Linked DNA regions of Homo sapiens: regions 2 and 3 are each linked to region 1. The links are contacts of gene promoters, found by promoter capture Hi-C in human tissues and cell types (Jung and others, 2019). All regions are on one chromosome and are shown on one strand. Each heading gives the region's core, a stretch centred on a gene start or on the middle of the fragment in contact. The rest is flanking DNA. Distances are from core to core; before and after follow the strand shown. Region 1 holds the start of ABHD3 (abhydrolase domain containing 3, phospholipase). Region 2 overlaps MIB1 (MIB E3 ubiquitin protein ligase 1). Region 3 overlaps SNRPD1 (small nuclear ribonucleoprotein D1 polypeptide).

Evidence for each region. Contacts are between HindIII fragments. The study calls those that stand out against the background at their distance.
Region 2: a contact is called between a fragment that was not itself captured here and the fragment with the promoter of ABHD3 in region 1, in 2 of the 25 tissues and cell types used here (H1 embryonic stem cells and lymphoblastoid cells).
Region 3: a fragment that was not itself captured here is called in contact with the fragment with the promoter of ABHD3 in region 1 in 2 of the 25 tissues and cell types used here (small bowel and thymus).

What each region holds. Positions count from the first base shown.
Region 1 is chr18:21,703,346-21,706,147 of GRCh38, reverse strand. It overlaps ABHD3 (abhydrolase domain containing 3, phospholipase), which reads left to right and starts at 1,374. Exons shown (of 9, transcript NM_138340.5): 1 at 1,374-1,644; 2 at 2,401-2,564. The coding sequence starts at 1,483. It also overlaps a transcript of MIB1 not described here. RefSeq lists enhancers at 967-1,036, 2,497-2,646 and a silencer at 1,207-1,976. The HindIII fragment of the contact is 17,143 bases long and covers 1-2,802 here.
Region 2 is chr18:21,780,867-21,783,566 of GRCh38, reverse strand. All of the region lies in intron 6 of MIB1 (MIB E3 ubiquitin protein ligase 1), which reads right to left. Among named protein-coding and RNA genes, the nearest start is that of MIB1, 41 kb to the right of the region's middle. The HindIII fragment of the contact is 6,307 bases long and covers 1-2,700 here.
Region 3 is chr18:21,620,575-21,623,274 of GRCh38, reverse strand. SNRPD1 (small nuclear ribonucleoprotein D1 polypeptide) reads right to left here. Exons shown (of 4, transcript NM_006938.4): 2 at 474-550. Among named protein-coding and RNA genes, the nearest start is that of SNRPD1, 9.6 kb to the right of the region's middle. The HindIII fragment of the contact is 8,700 bases long and covers 1-2,700 here.

The sequences.
Region 1 (2,802 bases), core at 125-2,624:
ATCTCGCCATTGCACTCCAGCCTGGGCAACAAGAGCAAAACTCTGTCTCAAAAAACAAAACAAAACAAAACAGAACAAACTTAAACTGAAATACGCATGCATTTATTGGTAGGTAGTGCAGAAGGCTGGTGCAGGGGTTATGAAGAATGCTATGAAGTTTCAAGTATGGCAACCAGCATATGCATTCACGTTTGCTATGTGTGCTCAGGTGTGAGAGCCAGAGCGTGAAAATTACTTCTGCTCACGGGGAGTCCAGTATATACACTATCTTGTCCTCTCGGGAACTCTATAAAGTAGAAATTGTTACGCTACAGATTATTAAAACAAGAAAAAAACAGGCTCAGTAAAGGTAATTGAATTATTTTGGGTGCTGCAGCCAACCACCAAGTTGCAATGACCAAATCGGAGCCAAATAAATTGCTCACTTCTGGTCCGTCTCATGTCCCCATCTAAATTACATCATTAATTTACAATCCTTTGGCATTTTTCATAATCTAGACAGCACTTTCCCTTCTTTCGTCTGTTTAAGTCTTGCCATTCTTCCTACCTCTCTGAGGAAGGAGTTCATAAGAGTAGGAATAGGCTATTAAATTCTAACCATTTCAGATAACCATAAGTATCCTGATTTATCATATTGCCATAAATAAGCCTAGGAGACCCTACTTCATAAATGGTTTCTTGTCTGTACATTAGGTAATCGGTGTGAATTTCCATAAGTCTCTAAATTCAAAGCATTAATGAACCACAAATAGGCTTTTAACAATTGAATCCCGGTTGCTATTCTTGACCTTTTCATTTATTTTCAGAGACCACTTCTCATTTAAGTGACACTTAGCAACTAAAAAGATTCACAGAGTGATTCAGAGTCGAGTATGATGTCCTCACTGTTGAATGCTCATAGAATATTTTTTCTCTTTCCATAGTCTTGAGGACCAACGCAAACGTCTAGAGGATGTGGGATTCTTACCTGCTAACATATCTTTGGCATTAACTCCCCAAATCTTTGAATGCAAGGCACGCTTACCTGACACCCTAAACTGCTAGTTTAGGGACACCCGCCGCAGAGCGGAATCGTTCAAGGTCACTGGGGCTGCAGGTGCGGGGCCTTAACCAGCGCTGCCGATCCGTCAGCTCTCGGCCCACCCTTGGGGATCCCCATCGCCCACTGCGACCTAGCTGGGAGAACCCAGTCCGCCCGCCCTCCCGGTGGCCGGTCTTGGAACCGCGCTTCTGGAAGGTTCCTGAGTGGCTGGCAGTGGGGGCGGCTCCAGGAAGCCGGGGCGGAGCGGGCGGCGTTGGAGTCTCGGGCTACGCCTCCCTGGGCCGCTCCGCCCCGCCCGTTGTCGGAAGCCGCGCTCCGCCAGGCAGGAGACACTGTGGTCGGGAGTAGGCAGCGGCGCCGCGTCCGCTCTCGCCCGCTCTCGCCCGCTCGCCAGCCGGCTCTCCTCCCGCCGCAGGACCCGCGCGCCGCGCTCGGGGGCCATGCAGCGCCTGGCCATGGACCTGCGGATGTTGTCCCGGGAGCTCTCCCTCTACCTGGAACACCAAGTCCGGGTGGGGTTCTTCGGCTCGGGGGTGGGCTTATCCCTTATCCTGGGCTTCAGCGTCGCTTATGCCTTCTACTACCTGAGCAGCATTGCCAAGGTGAGCCGGGGGTGGCGCAGGGCCGCGGGCTGCTGGGCCAGGAGCTAGGGTAGCAGGCGCGGCGCGAGGCTGCGCGGCCAGGGGCGGTCGGCAGCCCCGGGGATAGGCGGCGAGCTGCTCCCGAGCGGCAGCCCCCAGCGCGCGCGGGAAAGCCAACAGGCCCCGCCCGTTCGCCCGCCCCCTGGGGGTCCCGGCCGGGTGGTCCTCGGAGCGCAGCCTGAACCCGGCTGACTTCTGCGCTGCGGCGCTGCCCGGTCACCGATCGCGAAGCCGGCGGCGCACTCGGGAACGCCGTGGCGCTTTTGAAAATGACTCCGGGCAGGGCACGGTGGCTCACGCCTGTAATCTCAGCACTTTGGGAGCCCGAGGCGGGTGGATCACCTGAGGTCAAGAGTTCGAGACCAGCCTGACCAAAATGGTGAAACCCCGTTACAATTACAAAAAATTAGCCGGGCGTGGTGGCGGACGCCTGCAATCCCAGCTACTCGGGAGGCTGAGGCAGGAGAATCCCCTGAACCCGGGAGGCGGAGTTAAAAACAAACAAACTCCCTTATCGCGATTCTCGCCTTCCCCTCGGGGCATTGGCGAAACCCCCGTTTCAGTCCTCTGTGACTGTGAATTTTTTGCGTCAGCCCTCCAGAAAGAGTTGTAATCGGAGGAAGCGCGCGCGCGAGCGACAAGTCTTTGCCGGTTTCTGGTTTACGGTTGGCAGAAACTTTGCTCTGGGCCCTTCTCTGATACTGCTTTTCCCTTCAGAAACCCCAGTTAGTGACCGGGGGTGAGAGTTTCAGCCGCTTCCTTCAAGACCACTGTCCCGTGGTTACAGAAACGTACTACCCGACGGTCTGGTGCTGGGAGGGTCGAGGACAGACCCTGCTTAGACCTTTCATCACTTCGAAGCCCCCGGTGCAGTACAGGAAGTAAGTGAATTTCCGTTTTCAGTCATTTCTGCAAAATCACAGGTTGTTTGTTTGCTTGCTTGCTTATTCCCAGTTCTTGGTTAATAGAATCTGCTTTAGGAAGTATATAGAACAGAAAGAGGGAATGAAAATGGAAGGTACGTCCCCGGCTCCACCCCCAGCTGCAGGAAAATACCCCAGCTGCAGGTATTTGCCTCCTGGTCCCCGCCCTAACCGCCAACCTGATGTAAATGGTTTA
Region 2 (2,700 bases), core at 4-2,503, 78 kb before region 1:
CTCCAACTAGAAGACATAGAGTGAGGCCGGGCACAGCGGCTCACACCTGTAATCCCAGTACTTTGGGAGGCTGAGGCGGGAGGACCACCTGAGGTCAGGAGTTAGAGACCAGCCTGACTAATATGGTGAAACCCCATCTCTACTAAAAATACAAAAATTAGCTGGGCTTGGTGGAGGGCACCTGTAGTCCCAGCTACTCGGAAGGCTGAGACAGGAGAATTGCTTGAACCCGGGAGGCGGAGGTTGCAGTGAGCCAATATCGTCCCACTGCACTCCAGCCTGGGCGACAGAGTAAGATTCCATCTCAAGAAAAAAAAAAAAAGGCATAGAGTGGCTGAATGGGTAAAAGAAAATTGTTTAAATGACCCAACCCTGTGCTCCCTACAAGAAATTCATTTCACCTATAAAGACACATGCAGACTGAAAGTGAAGGGATGGAAAAAGATATTGCACACAAATGGAAACCAAAAAAGAGCAGGAATAATTATACTTTTATATCAGATAAAATAGACTTTAAGTTAAAGACTGTAAAAACAGACAAAAGTCACTGTATAATAATAAAGTGGTCAATTCAGCAAAAGGATATAACAATTATATATGCACTCAACACTGGAGCAACCAAATATAAAACACAAACATCAATAGATCTAAAGGGAAAGATACACTGCAATATCTTTAACAGTAGGGGACATTTCAACATTTAACTTTCAGTAATGAACAGATCATCAACTAGAGAGAAAATCAACAAAGAAACATCAAAGTTAAACTACAATCCAAACCAAATATACATAATTGACACTTACAGAATACTTCATCCAACTGCCATAGAATACACACTGTTCTCATCAGCACGAGGAACATTCTCCAAAAGAGACCACATATTGGGCCACAAAACAAGTCTCACTAAATTCAAAAAAGTTGAAATGGTATAAAGTATCTTTTCTGACCACAATGCAATAACACTAGAAAGAAATTAAACATTATCCTGAACAATGAAAGCGTCAATAAAGAAATTAAGAAGGAAATTTTAAAATTTCTTGAAACAAATGAAAATGGAAACACAACATATCAAAATCCATGAAATACAGAAAAAGCAGTAGTAAGAGGGATATCTATAGCAATAAACACCTGATCAATAATTTAACGCCAGATGCAGTGGTTCATGCCTATAATCCCAGTACTTTGGGAGGCCAAGGTGGGCGGATCACGGGAGGTCAGGAGTTCAAGACCAGCCTGACCAACATGGAGAAACCCCATCTCTACTAAAAATACAAAATTAGCTGGGCGTGGTGGCACATGACTGTAATCCCAGCTACTCGGGAAGGCTGAGGCAGGAGAACCGTTTGAACCCAGAAGGCAGAGGTTGCAGTGAGCTGAGATCGCGCCATTGCACTCCAGCCTGGGCAACAAGAGCGAAACTTCGTCTCAAAAAAATAATAATAATAATTTAAAAAGTAGGAAGATTTCAAATAACCTAACAATACAGCTCAAGGAACTAGAAAAGCAAAAACAAAGCAAATCCAATAGTAGAAGGAAGAAGTAATAAAGATCAGCAGAAATAAATGAAATTGAGACAATAAAAAGAGAAAATATCAACAAAATGAAAAGCTGGATTTTTCAAAAGATAAACAAAATCAACAAATCTTTAGGTAGACCAACTAAGATAAAACCAGAAGACCCAAATAAAATCAGAAACAAAAATGGGGACATAAATGATACCACAGAAATGTAAAGGATCATGACAGAATATCATGAACATCTATATACCAACAAATTGAAAAATCTAGAAGAAATAGATAAATTATTGGACATAAACAACCTACCAAGATTGAGACATGAAGAAGTATCAACCCTGGCCAGGGGCGGTGGCTCACCTGTAATCTCAGCACTTTGGGAGGCCAAGGTGGGCGGATCACTTGAGGTCAGGGGTTCAAGATCAGCCTGGCCAACATGGTGAAACCCCATCTCTATTAAAAAATACAAAATTTAGCTGGGTGTGGTGGCACATGCCCATAATCCCAGCTACTTGGGAGGCTGAGGCAAGAGAATCATTTGAACCTGGGAGACGGAGGTTGCAATGAGCTGACATCGTGCCACTCCAGCCTGGGTGACAGAGGGAGACCCCATCTCAAAAAATAATAATAATAATTTTATATATATATATATATATATATATATATATATATATATATATATATATAACTTGAACAGACCAATAATGAGTAACAAGATCAAAGAAGTAATAAAAATATCTCCCATCAGAGAAAAGCCCCAGGGCCTGATGGTTTCAATGCCAGATTCTACCAAACATTTAAAGAACAAATATCAATCCTCTCAAACTACTGTTGCTTTTACTGGCCAGTCGAGGTGGCTCAAGCCCCCAGCACTTTGGGAGGTCAAAGTGGGAGGATCACTTGAGGCCAGGGGTTCAGCGCCAGCCTGGGCAATATGGCAAGACCCTATCTCTACTATAAAAAAAGTTTTTAATTTAAATTTTTAAAAAGAGAAAAAAAGAAAATGGCTTTTCGGATGCTGACAAGAACACACGAAAAGGGGAACACCTGTAGACTGTTGGTGGGACTTTAAATTAGTACAGCCACTATGAGAAACAGTATGGAGGTTCCTCAAAAAACTAAAAACAGAACTACCATATGATCCAGTAATCCCATTGCTGGGTGTATATATACCCAGAAGAAAGAA
Region 3 (2,700 bases), core at 152-2,651, 83 kb after region 1:
CCAAAAATATAAAAAATTAGCTGGGTGTGGTGGCACGCACCCATAACCCCAGCTACTTGGGAGGCTGAGGCAGGAGAATTGCTTCAACCCGGACCCGGGAGGCAGAGGTTGTAGTGACCTGAGATTGTGCCACTGCACTCCAGCCTGGGTAACAGAGTGAGAATCCGTCTAAAAAAAAAATTTACCCGGGCATGGTGGCAGGCACCTGTAGTCCCAGCTACTTGGGAGGCTGAGACAGGAGAATTGCTTGACCCCAGGCGGCGGATGTTGCAGTGAGCTGAGATCGTGCCACTGCACTCCGGCCCAGGTGACAGAGCAAAACTGTTTAAAAAAAAAAAAAAAAAATTACATAATTCAGACAAAAAAAATAAGGATTTGTACTACAATAATGTTCATTAAGCAATAAAAAAATAAACTCTGGCTAGGTAAAAGAGAAGAAAAAAAATGTTATAAAAGCAGTCCAACCTCCGTACCTGTGATTGTTCCATGGACCTGTGTTCCGTTCTTCAATTCAATGGTTACAGTTTCATGACTCAATTTCATCAAAAATCTATAAATAGGAATAAAACCATTTTTACCTGTAACACTTTAAAATCACATTTATTAAGGTGAAAGGGTGAAACAACTCGATGTTGAAAATTTGCTAGATGCTATCTGCATCAATTCCTATCAATAATCTGCATAACAATTTCAGCTTTCCTGAATTATATCCTCAACCTTTATGAAGGAACACAACAATACTAACATAAACTGTCATTTGGACGTTTCTAATTCTCAAACCTGAAATCCAGACATACAAGATCTTAGACTCATTATAAACCATGAAAAAGAAATAGGCCAGGCGTGGTGGCTCACGCCTATAATTCCAGCAGTTTGGGAGGCCAAGGCGGGCGGATCACGAGGTCAGGAGATCGAGATCATCCTGGCTAACATGGTGAAACCCCGTCTCTACTAAAAAATACAAAAAATTAGCTGGGCATGGTGGCGGGCACCTGTAGTCCCAGCTACTCGGGAGGCTGAGGCAGGAGAATGGGGTGAACCTGGGAAGCAGAGCTCTCAGTGAGCCGAGATCACGCCACTGCACTCCAGCCTGGGCAACAGAGCGAGACTCCGTCTCAAAAAAAAAAAAAGAAATAAAGAATTACAGTCGGTAAAAAGATTACAAGCTTATTATAATGCCTATAAAGTAAAAATCTCCCTTCCTAACCCCCTGCACTGTGGGTATGTAGGAATATTATTCCAGATCACTTTATATGCATTCAGAAGGATATATACAGATTTCTTTTGACATAAATTGGGTCATATTTTATTCACGTCTATAACTTGTAGTCCTCGTTTAGCAGTTTATATTGGACATATTTCCATTTCAACATACAAAACATTCTAAGAACTGAGGCTGGGCGTGATGGCTCATGCCTATTTATAATCCCAGCACTTTGGGAGGCCGAGGAGGGCGGATCATCTGAGGTCAGGAATTCAAGACCAGCCTGGCCAACATGGTGAAACTCCATCTCTACAAAAACACAAAAATTAGCTGGGCAGGATGGCGTACGCCTGTAATCCTAGCTACTCAGAAGGCTGAGGCAGGAGAATCGCTTAAACCTGGGAGGCAGAGATTGCAGTCAGCCAAGATCGCACCACTGCACTCCAACCTGGGGACAGAGCAAGACTCCATCTCAAAAAAAATTAAAAAAAAATAAAAATAAATTAGCGAGGCAAGGTGGCGCACGCCTGTAATCCCAGCTACTTGGAAGGCTGGGGCATGAGAATCGCTTGAACCCGGGAGGCAGCATTTGCAGTGAGGTGAGATTGTTCCACTGTACCCCAGCCTGAGTGACAGGGCAAGACTCCATCTCACAAAAAGCCAAAATAACAAAATAACATTCTAAGAACTGGAAAGTATTCCACTATATGGAAATGTCAAAATTTATTACCGCCTGTTGACGGACATTACTTTGGTTCAATTTTTTCCCATTACAAACCCAATTATGCAAACCCTCACCAACACAAGTTGCTATAAGTCTTTCAAATTTTTGTCAATTTGATGGGGAAAAAATTTGCTTTTCCTTAATTACCTGTGAGATTGAATATCTTATCTTTTTTTTTTGACACAGAGTCTCGCTCTGTCACCCAGGCTGGAGTGTAGTGGCACAATCTCGGCTCACTGCAACCTCCGCCTCCTAGGTTCACGCCATTCTCCTGCCTCAGCCTCCCGAGTAGCTGGGATTACAGGCGCTCGCCACCACACCTGGCTAATTTTTTGTATTTTTTTTTTAGTAGAGACGGGGTTTCACCATGTTAACCACGATGGCCTTGATCTTCTGACCTCGTGATCCACCCGCCTCGGCCTCCCAAAGTGCTGGGATTACAGGCATGAGCCACCGCGCCCTGCCTGAATATCTTTTCATTAACATGGGAAAACTATTTCTTCCGTGAATTACCTGTTCACATTATTGACATTCTCAATTAGGTTGAGTTTTTCTTTTATTTTCTACTGGTTTGCCAGTCATTCAAGTTTGTTGTTTATGGTTTCTTTAGTCACACAAACTTTTTTCACTTTTATGTTTTGAATTTGTTCACCCTCCTGGGATACATAATTTACCTAAGAAAGGGTTTTTTCTATGCCAAGATTGTAAAAAAATAGTGTCTTATTTTCTTCTACTTTTAGAGTTCTAATCTACTTGGAATTGATCTTTTTTA